Linked DNA regions of Homo sapiens: region 1 is linked to region 2. The links are contacts of gene promoters, found by promoter capture Hi-C in human tissues and cell types (Jung and others, 2019). All regions are on one chromosome and are shown on one strand. Each heading gives the region's core, a stretch centred on a gene start or on the middle of the fragment in contact. The rest is flanking DNA. Distances are from core to core; before and after follow the strand shown.

Region 1 (6,779 bases), core at 353-2,852, 53 kb before region 2:
GGAAACCCTCCCACTGATGGCTCATGTGAAGCCCAGAGAGGACCAGAGGCCTGAGCCTGGAATCTTCTCCTGGCTTCTGCCTAGGGCTCTTTGTCCTTCACCAGGCCACTATGCAACATCTTGGCCACCCAGAGGGACTCCAGACAGTGGCACACTGCCTCTTCATCACCTCCCTGCTTGCTAAAACATGTCACAAAGAGCCCGTCTTTCCACAGGGATACCAGGTAGCATGACCGAATACCTTAATCTACCCCAGGTTTTTTTCCCCATTGTTTTCATCTGTACAAATCCAAGGTGCCAAATACCTCTTAGATTGGAGGCCTGCAAGCTTCCAGGGAGGGAAATGATGCTGGGAGCAGGGCTATTTGCATGTTTTCATTAACGCAGGCTATGGCTGGCCAGGCTGCCAGCTCCCTTGAATGCGTGTCTTCCTGGGGTGATAGAGAATCAATTGGCTTGATGCAACTTCTGGATCCTTGTTACAGCCCTGGCTTGGGTCCCGTGGAGGCCCTCAGACAGACATCAATAACCTTGCCTCTCATTGCCTTTATTGGCCTCGATGCCATCCCATTAGAATGCACCAATATTTATGCACATTTTAATGGCACTGCCAACAGCAGCATTATAACAGGGTGGCCAGACAGGGAGGGGTGAGGGAAGACTGCAGGCTGCGTTTTCTCTCTCTCACTGTGCTTATTCAATCTACAGGCAGAGGGTTTCTTTCTCACTAAGTCCTTTTCTCCAATACCTGAGGCCTCGGTTTCCGTTACTACCCAGAGGCTCAATACTAATAGGTAGAATTTGTTGTGAATCAATAATAGGCAACACACACTATTTTCCATGATTCATTGTTTCATGTAATTGTCACAACATTAAGTAGGATAATGGTACTGCTATTTAACAAATGGATAAGTCAAGGCTCAGAGTTGGTAAGCAAGTTCAAGGTCATACAGCTGTAAGCAGGTTTACAGGCAAAATTACAAGTTCATATAGGAAGAACCAGGCTTTTGGCTTAGATCCGGGCCAAAGCTATGTCTTTTTATTCTATTACATTGCCGTGGATCTTTATAACTCAATAAACATAATAAATTTTGATTTGAGTACCTACTACGTGTGGGGTACTGTTATAGGCTCTGAAGTACTGAAGTGACAAAGACAGATGAGGTCTCTGCTTCAGTGTCTGGACATCATAAGAGAATCAACAAATGTTTACACAAGAACATATGATCTGGTGACAAGTGTGCAAAGCATTAAAATAGACTGATGTGAGAGTGAGTGATGGGGTTGCTACTTCTAGATGGGGTGACCAGGAAAGTCCTCTTGAGAAGGTGACAGTCACACTGAGTCATAAAGAGCAAGAAGGGGCATTCCACATGACTCTCAGAAGACACAGCTCAGTCCCCAGGTGGGAATAAGCTGGGTGGGTTTGAGGACAGGAGGGAAGACCCGTGTGGCTGTAGCAGAGCAGTTGGGAGGATGAGAGGTGGTGAGGCAGGTGCAGAGCTAGGCAGGACTGGATCCTCTTGGCTTAAGTGCCAGGGGGAGCCATTTGGGTTTAAGTTTGATTGTGATAACAAGTCACTGGACTTGATCTGAAGTAATTATTTAATGTTCCCTCTGGCTTTGCGCAGAGAAGTATTGGAGTAGAACAAAAGAGAAACAGGTGGAGTGAGTTAGGAGACTATTGTGATGGCAGCTGAGGGAAGGGTGGGAGTCATTGAAGGAGGAGAGAAGATTGAACATATTCTAGATAGATTTAGGAAGTAAGATACATGAGACTGGCTGATGGATTGGATATGAGGTGTGAAGCAGAATGACAAATCAAGGAAACCTTCTAGGTTTGGGAACTAATCAACTTGGTGAGTCATGATAGCATTTGTTAAAATGGACTGTTGGATGAAGAATTTGTTGGGGTGTTTGGCACAGGAAGTCAAGAGTTCTTTGGGGCCATTTTAAACTTGAGATGTTAATTAAACATCTCTATAGTAAGTAGTTGGATAGCACCATGGACAGCATGCAGCTGAGAAGGGTGTCCAGTCCTATCCACACCTTAACACCCAGCAGCAGAGCAGAACAAGGTGGCTCTGCAGAGCAGGATGGGAAACGCAGGCCACAGGTAGGAAGAAAACCTAGAGAAAGTGATGTCAAGGAAGTTGAGAGATCAACGGTTTCAAAATAGTAATATTAATGATGATGATAATTATAAGAGGAGGAGGAAGAGGAAGGTAGTAGTAGTAACAACAAAGAACTTATTATGTGACAGGCACAGTTGTAAGAGTTTCCTGTGTTTTAACTAACTTTAATTCCCACAACAAGCCTAAAAAGGAGATACTGTTATTCTCTCCAAATTCTAGATGAGACAACTGAGGCACAGAGAGGCTACTCAAAAGTGAAATCTCTGGTCTCTCTACCCACTGTGTTCCTTAACAAGCCAGACCCAGCCCCTTCTTTCCAGGCCCTAAAAATCAGCTTCAGAGCCTTAAACAGGTACTGACTGAGTTCTCGGTAGGTCCTGTCCTTTTTCAGCCCCAAACTTGGTTTATTAATCTCTTTGTCGGTTTCAATGCTCAGATCAGGGGAAACCTGTTAGCTTAGGTGACAGACAGGCAGCCTGCAGCTGTGGGGAGTAATCAGATTTCTTATTTTTGCTCTATTCTCCAACACAAACCTTTTCTTCAGGCTCATTCTCTCCCTAGCTGCCAAAACCATCGTGTGATATTCCCACATGCATTCCGTTTCAGGAGGGCTATCCCATGCCATCCTGAAATGGCTCCAATTCCTGTCTCAAGACTCATCCAAGCCTCACCTCCTCTGAGGGGCTTCCTTGAGAAGAATACCCACATTCATCTCTACAACCTCTCAGAAATTATTTCATATATAATTAATTTTCATTCTTAATTAAGTTCAATTTTGCACTTTGCATCGGCAAAGTAGTTCGGTTCCCATGACATACTTCACAGTCAAAATGCTATTACCAGAGGTGGAAGTAACAATGAATGGAGCAAAATGTATCCGTGGGTGTCAGGAAAGGGAATAAGAGGGATAAAATGAAATTAGATGCCAATTAACCTTGGGGCAGACACATGCAAGAAGAGGGGCCATTGAAGAGAGCCAGGGAAAACATGGTCTGGGTCGGGACACTCCAGGACTGGGAAAAGACCTGGCTCTGCCCCTGGCAATGCTTGGGACATGGTCTTGTGCAGCTAGACATGGCCCTGGCTGGACCTCCAGAGAGGAGGCACAGGGGCCATCTGGGAATTTACTGGTTCTTGTCACATCCTTCCAAGATGGACCAAATATATGTGTGCGTGGCATCTGCCCTAGCGATGGTTAATATAAGTGGAGAGTGCCTCAAGTTCCCTTCATCCATCTTTCCATCTGCCTTGGGTCTGAAATTTGCACACTTGAAGAATAAAGTCTTTAATTTGCAGCTATAAACAAGTAAGCTCATTTTCCCACGTACAGTTGAGAGAACACCATGGGCAAAGATCAGTCTCACTGAGGGCTAAGCAGGAGTAAGCAGTGGAGAGGTGGCCAGAGGAGTTACTGCCCTGAATGGGTCCACTAACAGGGGAGAGGAGAGGAAGGTCTCATGAAAAGGGCAGTGGGAGACTTGGGAAGAAGAGTCATGAACTTCACAGGCCCTAGTATAGGCCCTACCTTCCTTCAAGGTGTGCAGACAAACAGAGACAAATAGGGTAAAGAGGGATTATTTGTTACACATTGTTATGTGAACTGGTGAGGACGTATGCAGGGAGACAACATCACATGTAGGGAGAACCATATCAGTCCTGCTTCACAGAATTGGGAAGAATGTTCACCCATTCATTCATCCAACAAATATTCATTGAACATCTACTCTGTGCAGGCACTGTTCCAGGTGCTTGCAATATGCCATTGAGGAAAACAGACACAGACCTCTGCACTTGTAAAGTTATTCAAGTGACAGGACACAGACAATAAACTACAAACATGACAAACAGTTGTAAACTACATAGAATGTTAGAGGTAATGAGGTCACAGTCTTTGGAAAAAAGAGACTTATTTCCCAAAAAGTACTGCATCATCACACACAATCCCAGCTTGCTCTCTGTTACCTCTCCAGGAGTCTCTGAGGCTGGAGTGGCCACACTGCTCACTTCTCTTTTATTTCTCAAACACCCTCCACCATCCACCTGTCTCCCTTGTAACCTGTACTACACATGTGTGGGACACAGAGAAGGTGCTCAATCATGTGTGGCATCAAATTAACCATCCTAGTTTAGGAACACAAACTGTCTCCCGACAGAAATCCTCCTCTAAGATGATCTGTTTACCTGTTTGCCAGGGCCCTAGAGCCCCGTCTCCATTGATCATCCCCTGTGTCACATGTGGGAAATGTGGTTATCCAAGGAGACTTTGATGATTAATTTCCCTCCCTCCTCTTAGGTTTCCCAGGAGCCCATCTGTACGCTGTCATTCACAATGCCTCCTCTCCTGGCCATTCCTGACTCACAAGAGGGATGGGGATGAGGCAAACACTGTGTTCTACAGGTGACTGTTCTAAAATTTGCCACATAGGACTGAGAATGCTTTGATTGAATCTCACGTCTACAGCCCCAACACCCTGAATGCGCCCAATCTCATCTGATTTGATCTCATTTCCAGCAATGTGTATACATGCATGAAATGGAGAAGCCAGCCTCCTTGCATGTGTCCAGCACGAGGGATGATGAGCAATAACTTTCTGTACAATAAAATCATGGACCATGCTGAAGTACATTTCAACTGCTCTCTTGTCCTTAACTTATTCATGTATATAAAACATCAAATTCTATAAAGACTTAGCTGAGGAATGCCTTTAAATTCAGTATATGTAAAAAGTAGAAGAATAAGCCTTCAAAATCCACTGTTTGTATATGCCAGAGTTCTTTGAGGCTCAATCCCAGGATCCTTTCTCTTCTTACTCATGTTGTATTTATGTCTAGTTTTACCCATGTCCTCTCTTCAGACACCACCTCTCTGCCAATGGCTCAGAATCCAATATTTACAGTCTAGACTTTTCCTCTCAGTCTTATAACAAAGTACCATACAGTATCCCAAGGGATATCCCTACTTGGTTGACCTCCAGGCTCTTCAACACTCCACAATCAGAACAAATTCATGGTCTTCCTGCCATCACTTCTGAATCTGGACCTGTTCCATCATTCTTTATCTCACTAGAGATAAAACGTCACAACCATTCAGTGTCTCTAGCCAGAAATCCAAGCATCATCACGGACCTGACCTCCCTTGTTCTTGCCCTTCATATTCAATCTATCCAAAGTCCTATCAGTTTTGCATTCAAATAAATAAATTTTTGAATTTCACTGTTCACTGTCCAATCAGATCCCACATTGCAACCAGAGGAAATTCTAAATGCAAATAGTGCCACCCCTATGCTTAAATTACTCTAGTACTTTTCTATTGCTGTAACAATAAATACCAAAATCCTTATGGGCTCAATTATGTTCTCAAAATCATATGTTAAAATCCTACCCCGCCCAGTACTTGGAATGTGATCTTATTTGGAGATAGGGACTTTAATGAGACAATTAAGTTAAAGTGAGAACATTAGAATGGGCCCTAATCCCCTATGGCTGGTGTTTTTATAAGAAGATATTAGGGCACCATCAGGCAGAGAAGGCCATGTGTAGACACAGTGAGAAGAAGACATCTACAATCAAAGGAGAGGGAACTTAAAGAAACCAACCCTGCTGACACCTTGATCTCAGACTTCTAGCCTCCAGTACCATGAGAAAGTCAATATCTATGGTTTAAGCCACTCAGTCTGTAGAACTTTATTATGGCAGCCTTAGCAAACAAACACATCTCAACAAAGCTATAACGTCCTCTTGGCTTTTGTGGTGGTTTTAAAATATGTCCATGAATTTTTTGACACTCCCCCTTCAAAAGGTGGAGCTGATTCTTCTCCCCTTGGGTGTGGGCTACACTTACTGGCTCCCCTCTAAGAAGTAGAACATGGTAGAAGGGATAAGGTGTAACTTCCAGATTAGGACATAAAAGGAATTAGGGCTTCCTGTTGCTCTCCTTTTTGGATCCCTTGCTCTTGGGGAAGCCAGCTGCCACATCATGAGGACTCTCAAGGGGCCCAGTGGAGAGTCCACATGGTGAGGACTGAAGCCTCCTGCCCACAGCCGTGTAAGTGAGAGATCCTGTACACAGATTCTGTGGTCCCAAACAAGCCTGCGGATTATGGCAGCTCTTGCCAGTGTCTTTACTGTAACTTCAGAGAGACCCTGAATCAGAACTGCACAGCTAAGCTGCTCCACAATCCCTGACCCACAGAAACTATGAGACAATAAATGTTTGTTGTTTTAAGGTGCTAAATTCTAGGGCAACTTGTTAGGCAGAAATAGATAATTAGTACGGTTTGAGTCTATTCTTCTAGGCTAATCATTCACCACTCTTGTCTTGCTCTCTGAGCTCCAGCCTCATTTCCTCTCTTGCTCAAATTCCCTATGCTCCTTAAACCCCTCTTTCTAGAATGTACCCCTACATTCTTCCTTATTTGAGTCCTACTCATTGTCTTGATCTCTTTGAAGCATTAATTTTTCAGAGAAATCTTTTTTGACCCCATTCCAGTAATATGTTTTATTAAACCATGTTCCTTTCCTTCAGAACACTTTCCTAAGTTCATTATTATTTGTTCATTAGGGTGATTATTGGATTGATATCTATCTTCCTCACTAGACTTCAAGCTCCTCAAGGCCAGACATGGTGCTGTTTTTACTTATCTC
Region 2 (6,863 bases), core at 1,124-3,623:
TAGCAGGCTAGAAGTTCTATTTCTGCTTTCGCTATCCTCTGGCTTCCCACTTTAAGCGTCTGTGTCTCTCCATTTATAAAATGGGTCCAATAATGTCACTGAGCACTTTTTTTTCAGAGAAAATTTAAGGGCATTAATGAGATAATGACTACTAAGTATGGTGACTTCAGTAATAAACTGTGGTTTTGGACAGGGTCCACTGCAAGGGCATAATTTTTTAAAAATCCTCAGTGATGTGTCATGCAGAAATCTATCCACTCACTTGTTCAAACTGGAAGATTTCAAGGACAGGAGGTTTGGAATGTTAAAATACTGAATGAGTCAGTGTTGGTTTCTGATGCTCTGCATTTGTCTATTTCAGTCTTTCTTCCCTACCCTTACAACCTCTGACTTCACTGTCTTCCTGGATGCATTCTACTTCCTGCCACTCTAGGGAGATGCTAAGATTTCTGGATCCAATGCCAAGCATAGTAAAAAAGAAAAGTGGTGCCATTTCACTCAGAACTGTGTCTCTCACCCAGAAGGCTCCCCAGCCAGAGGCAGAGAGTATTTTCTTCATCTTGGAGAAGGGGCCCATTGTGCTGAATTAAAAATAAGACAAAGAATCACCATTCTAGGGTCCATTTGGGGTTGGAAAGAGTGAAACCACCCCACCTTGCCTATGTATCTCCCCTGTCTCAACACACTTGAAGAAAGTGACCAGAACCATAAACAGTTAGGGGTTAAATCAAGGGAAGACTTGCTCCTACAAGAAGCCACATCTCTTTCAAGTTCCCTGTAGGATGCTGGCTCCACGGAGACTTGAATGATTGAAGGAAATCCTCAACACCACTTGTTGAATGACTCAACCAGGTAGGTGTGGCCAGGACTGAATGGGGCAGGGGCAGGCCTATAGTGTCTCCAAGACAATACCAAAGCAGATGCAGGGAATTGACTGAACATACTTCAGAGAGGCAGAAAGCAGGAGAGACAGAGTAATACCTTGCAAAAAGTAGCAGCAGTGAAGAAAGAAGTAATAATGAGCTCCTGTTTGCAGAGCCTCTCAGTGCTGGAGGAGAACAGAGTACCACTTCAAGCCCTCCTGAGTCTGGGACAAGTCTAATTTTGTTTCTGCTCACCCTAGACATATAGAGACAAACCTTTATTCTTAGTTGTTTTTCACTGCCAAATGCCCCAGAAAACAGGGCAGAACAGACTTTGTCTTCTTTCCAACCACCCATAGCCAAAGATGGCATAAAAGTGGAGGGTACCTCCTGCCTCCTTGCAAATGTAATATAACCCACACCAGCCAGTCTCTGCAAAGCTCAAGACACTAGCACTTTCCTACCACCATGAAGTCAGAAGGGACCTCAACCCCCCAAAGCCGCCCCAGCCTGAGCTTCACCTGTTGCACCTGCCCACTTACCATGGGTTCACACCAGAAGAGAAAGTAAAAGGTCAGGTTGGGCTCTCTCCACAGCAAGAGCCCAGAGAATACTAGGAAACTGACATTTTACAAAGCACCTCTTTAAAGCTCTCTCAGAGGTGCGTAACTTTTAACTCTACCTCCACTCCCAACCCCCCAGGCTTCCTTTGCAACTCTTTCCCACCATGGATGGCTTGTCGGGAGAGAGTTAAAGAAGGTGCACGACTAATTCCCCAAACCATCTCGCTTATCTACAGACAAAAAGAACAGCCTTACATGGAGACACGCAGAAACCACCCGCAATTTAGCTCAGACCTCACCTGTCTTATGCAACAGTACACACACACACACACACACACACACACACACCCGCAAGGCCAGAGTCCAATCCCCCTTTAATTCGGTAAACATAGTTTTGCGCCTTTCTTTTCCCTACGCAGAACCCGACTCTACTGGCAGCAGAGAAATAGATGTAACCCTAGTGCCAAATGCCTTGCAGAACACACAGATACACAGGAACCAAAATGCATCTCATAGCTCTCCTTGGTGCTGAAATCACGTTAGCCAGAAAATCAAAGGAGCGAGTGCTCTGGACTTACCCAGGCTGGGGGTGGGCGGCCGGGGAGCGAGAGGAGCTTCCTGGGAAGAAAATTCTTGCTTGCTCAGGCTGGAGCCAGCTGATGCGCTCACCTAGAGAGCCCTCCTCTTTCCCTTCTCTTCCCTTCCTCCTATTCTGGGAGGAAGAGACAAGGCTCCACGAAAGAAATGAAACCCAAGCTGTCAGGGCTACGGGTGGAAGGAGAATGAGGAGGCAACCAAAATAAGATCAAAAAGTCAGGTGGCTTCACTCCACTAGTGGTAATTCCTTGGGTCAGAGAGGACCCCCTTCTCTCACTCTCCCTGGGTCTGCCCGTCTCCTCTGGGTGTTGAGCCAACAGCCTTAGCACAGTCGGTTCCTGCCTCTGACGTGAAAGAGAGGAGGAAGCCTGGGACTGCTTTGCTGTCTCTCTCTCTCTCTCTCTCTCTCTCTCTCTCTCTCTCTCTCTCTCACGCGCTCTCTCTTTTCCCCTCTTGCTGAAATTTCAGCAGCATGATTTTTTTAAGCCTCCGTTTTTTCCATCCCCCTACAAGCAGCCCCCTAGTGGACAGAAAAGAAAAGCATCCTAAATCCTCTTGAACAGTCCAGATTCAGGCACAGAAATACTCCCCGCACCCAACTCTTGGAGCTGCCTCTGCATAGGCAGGGTCCTGAAGAAGATAGAGGCTTCCCTCTGACCAACCCAGATAAGAAGAGAAAGGGAGAGGATGGAAGCTTTTGCAGATCCTTTGCCCATGATTGAAGGAGAAATCCAGGGTGGAATGGGTTGGGATAGAATGTTTTGGAATAAGGTCAGTTGTGGGGTTCTCAAGTGGTTTGAGGTCCGGGCTCAGCAGAAGGAACCCTCCAAAAAGTCAGCGTCTGCAGCCAGGTGAAGTATGTGTATACGTAGCACAACCCAGGCATGGGAATGCCTAAAGAGGCAGAGGATACAGGGAGCTGGCCCTTCATCCAACTCCACAATATAGCTTTTTTGTAAAGCTAGTAAGAAAAATATCTGAAAAGATATGGCCTGAGATCATCTCAGAAGTAGAGACAGAAGTGACCTTGATGCACATTTATGGAGAACCTTGGCAGAGAAGGGGCATCAAGGGGTCACTGCTCATAGGCTCATAAGGGATATCTAACATTCTCTTTTAAATGTACAGCCACACAGCCTCCCGGAAAGAGTCCTAATACTTACATCTAAAAATCTGAGTCCTGGTTTCAGACTGCCACTTGCTTACTGGACATTTTGCTTCTCTATGGCTCAATTTTACTGTTTGTAAAATGTGGATAATGCTGCCCCCTCCCTACTGAATAGGAATGCTAAGGGACTGGAATGATATAGAAACATAGAACCTCAGGATTGGCAGGGAATTTAAAGGTAATCTTATACAAACACTCTTCTTATATTTGATTCACTCCTGGCAAATAACAATAGCTAACATTTATAGAGTGTTTATACCAGGTGCTAGGCACTGTTATAAGCCCTTACATGTATTAGCTCATTTAAGCCATACAATAACTCTATAATGCAGAGGCTATTATTGCTACTCTATAGACTGGGAACTGAGTAACAGAGGAATGAAATAACTTTCCAAAGATCACACAACTAGTGAGTGTCAGGGATGGTAATGGAACCTGAGCCATCTGACCCTGGAGCTTCCTCATTGAATTACCATGTTCTATAAATGTACACTTCAGGAGTGACATTTGAAGTAAATAGAAGATAGCACCACAGTTATCATTGCTTTTATTTATGACAAAGTGCCTAGATTGTTACAATAAATTTATATGTGGCTGAGTTTTTAAAATAAAATATTTACCACTAGGGGTGCCAAACAAACTGTGGAAATTGCTATTACCGATGAGAATCTCCTAAGAAAATTAATTCTCTTGGTGATTTGGGTAGTTTCACATATACAAAACTGGCTTTAAATCTTATAAAATTGGAAACTATTGGGTTTTAACATCAGTTCAGAAGACACATCACTCAATTTCTGTACCAAAAGCAAATTATTGCCCACTGCCTAACACAGTGCAAGAACGGAGCCAGCAATTTGAAGAGCTGAAACGTTGTAATGCATTCAGGTAATAAACGCTCAGTGAGAAATTGACATTTTCTTCAGAATCTCAGAATTATGAATTCCTTAGCTGAGGTGGCTTACTTTTTCTGGCTTTTTTTTTTTTTTTGGGTGAAAAGTGGATGAAGTAGGACAAAGATGGTAGGTGACAATTAACAAATCATGGTCCCTGTCCTCAACAGAGTTACCAGTTCCTCAAAGGGGGAAAGAAAGAGCAAGACACAAATGATTACAATTCAAGGACTAAGTGCCAAGAATTTGGGCAGTGAGCACATGGAAAACACAACTAACTTGATCTTTGAGGGCTAGGGGAATTCCTAAGGTATGCAGCATCTAAGCTGAGGCCTGAATAATCAGAAGTCTTCCCAGCAAAAAGTGGGTGAGAGAATTAAGCTGAAGGCATAGCATGTGCAAACTCATGGAGGAGGGAAAGGGGAAAGAGCATAGTAGGAAACTTTCAAAGAAAGTATTACCCTTCCACTGACAAATGGGGAATCTGAGGCTCATAAAAGTTAAGTGGCTTGCTCAAGTTCACACATCTAATAAGTATAGAACCCAAATCAAATGCACATCTATTTGACTCTAAAGTCATCCCCTTTGTGAAGCATGATGATATCTTCTCTCATCACTTAGAAGTGCCCACACCATTTAATAGAGTGTTTCAATAACATAGAAGCTAACATAACCGAGTGAGGGTGTAGCATCTACCAGGAAGCTGGAAGTATGATCTGTTACTATTAGATGAGAAACCCATAAAAAAGGCACTAGTCAGTTCAAAAAAAGGGGAAATTTAGGGTGCTAGTATTTTTTTTCTGGTGGATGTACAATTATTAAATGTATTGGGAAGTAGGAATATTTCAGAAGTACGGAGACATCAGAGACTTGGATTTGAAATGAAGATGAATGTAGAAACGGCTAAAAGAAGGTTTCAGATTAAGTGCTCTGGGAGCCCAGAGGAAGGAAAGGTCCTTCTGCCTAGGAGGGGTTATGGGAGACTTCACCTGGGAAGTGGCCATTCATCTGGACCGTAAAGAATGTAGGTTCAGGAGACTGCTCCATTGCACCTAGACATTTTATAAATAGAAACATGAGATCCGAGTTTTCTTAATGAATAGTGAGACACTGATTAGAGGGAGAGTAGAAAGAAGATCATTGTAGACAGAAAGATGTGAAGCTTTGGAATATGGATGGGTTTGGGAAGAGTAGAAGAGAAGTGAGATTGATGGATGAATTTGATTTTGGATATGTCAGGCTTTGGGAGAGTGAGCTTATATACTATAATAGAGCTGTCCTGGCAGTGGCTGGAGTTCTGGAGCTCAGATGAGAGATCTGGATTGGTGATTTAGATCTGGAGCCCATTTACATGGACATAATAGTTGCTGGATGGAGACCACCAACAGGAGAGAAAACAAAGAAGACTGAGGGCAGAATCTCAACCCTATTTCCTTGACCTCTGGATCAAGTTTTATATTTCTTCTTTAGTCCTTGTAGCTGAAGTGCTTGATACCCAGAAAATAGCCTGAAAATACTTACTGATTGGCTCATAACAATAACCAAATATGTAGTTGAAGATGATATTGGGACTGAGATCAGTTACTTGTTCTTTGGATCAGTTACTGGTTTCTTGGCTTCTGATCTACTTCTAATGACAAGACCCCTCAATCACCATTCCTCTTTGGAAGCTGGTAATCATTGGCCCCTGGATCTTTTGTTTGTTTGTTTGTTTGTTTGTTTGTTTGAGATGGAGTCTCACTCATTCTGTCACCCAGGCTGCAGTGCAGTGGCGCGATCTCGGCTCACTGCAACCTTTGCCTCCCAGGTTCAAGATATTATTTTCTTGCCTCAGCCTCCCAAGTAGCTGAAATTACAGGCATGCACCACCACTCCCAGCTAATTTTGATATTTTTAATAGAGATGGGGTTTCACCATTATGGCCAGGCCAGACTTGAACTCCTGACCACAGGTGATCCACCTGCCTCAGCCTCCCAAAATGCTGGGATTACAGGCATGAGCCACCTGTCCAGCCAGCCCCCGAATTTTTGTTTTCTACCTAGCACTCCAGCCCCCAAGCTCTCCTCCACCAAACCGAGCATCTCCTTAGGCACCCAGCTATCTCCAGGGAATCAGGAGCCACTATGTGGTGAAATACCATGGTGGAATTTCACAAGGAAAATCCATACCATGACCAGCATTCCAGAAAGCTCTTGGATCAACCCTTCCAGTACTTGAGGTCTGGACATAGGGACTCAGGAAGTGCAACTGTGGCTTTTTGACAGAAAAGGGAAGGGAACCTAGGATCCAGCTTTGAGATATGGCAAGTACAGAATAGCCAAGGGAGCCCTCAATTCCTAGACTAACCTAGGCCCCCATCTTGCCACTGTTTCCATGAGCATAGAAAGACAGAAAGTTTGGTGTAAACACCAGATAAGACCTGTGATGACCTCAGAGCTCTGGCCAAGAAGAAGGGGAAAGAGGAGCAGTGGACACTATCTAGATGATTAATCAACACCCCCAAAGCCTGTCCTATCCAGGTAATGTTTTGGGAGTAAGTCTTCCTATTTCCCACTCATCCTTCCTACACAATTTCTGACTTGCAAGCCTGTGTTCACCTGGCTGTAGCTATGTAGGATTATAAATTATTGCCCTTTCATCCTATGAGGATACAAACTTCTTGGGGGCCAGAACAAGGTTTTCATTTAGGAAGCATCTAGCACTGTGGGTCTCGGTCCATTCCCACTCCCAGACTGAACCTGGGAGAGGGAGGGTGTTGGAAAAAAGAGATGGAGAGAGGGAA

What was found. The method cuts DNA at HindIII sites, captures the fragments that hold promoters and counts their contacts. A contact is called where the count stands out against the background at its distance.
Region 1: a fragment that was not itself captured here is called in contact with the fragment with the promoter of TNR in region 2 in 1 of the 25 tissues and cell types used here (bladder).

What each region holds. Positions count from the first base shown.
Region 1 is chr1:175,689,114-175,695,892 of GRCh38, forward strand. All of the region lies in intron 1 of TNR (tenascin R), which reads right to left. Among named protein-coding and RNA genes, the nearest start is that of TNR, 51 kb to the right of the region's middle. The HindIII fragment of the contact is 8,304 bases long and covers 1-5,754 here.
Region 2 is chr1:175,741,222-175,748,084 of GRCh38, forward strand. TNR (tenascin R) reads right to left here and starts at 2,374. Exons shown (of 23, transcript NM_003285.3): 1 at 2,005-2,374. The HindIII fragment of the contact is 10,162 bases long and covers 1-3,980 here.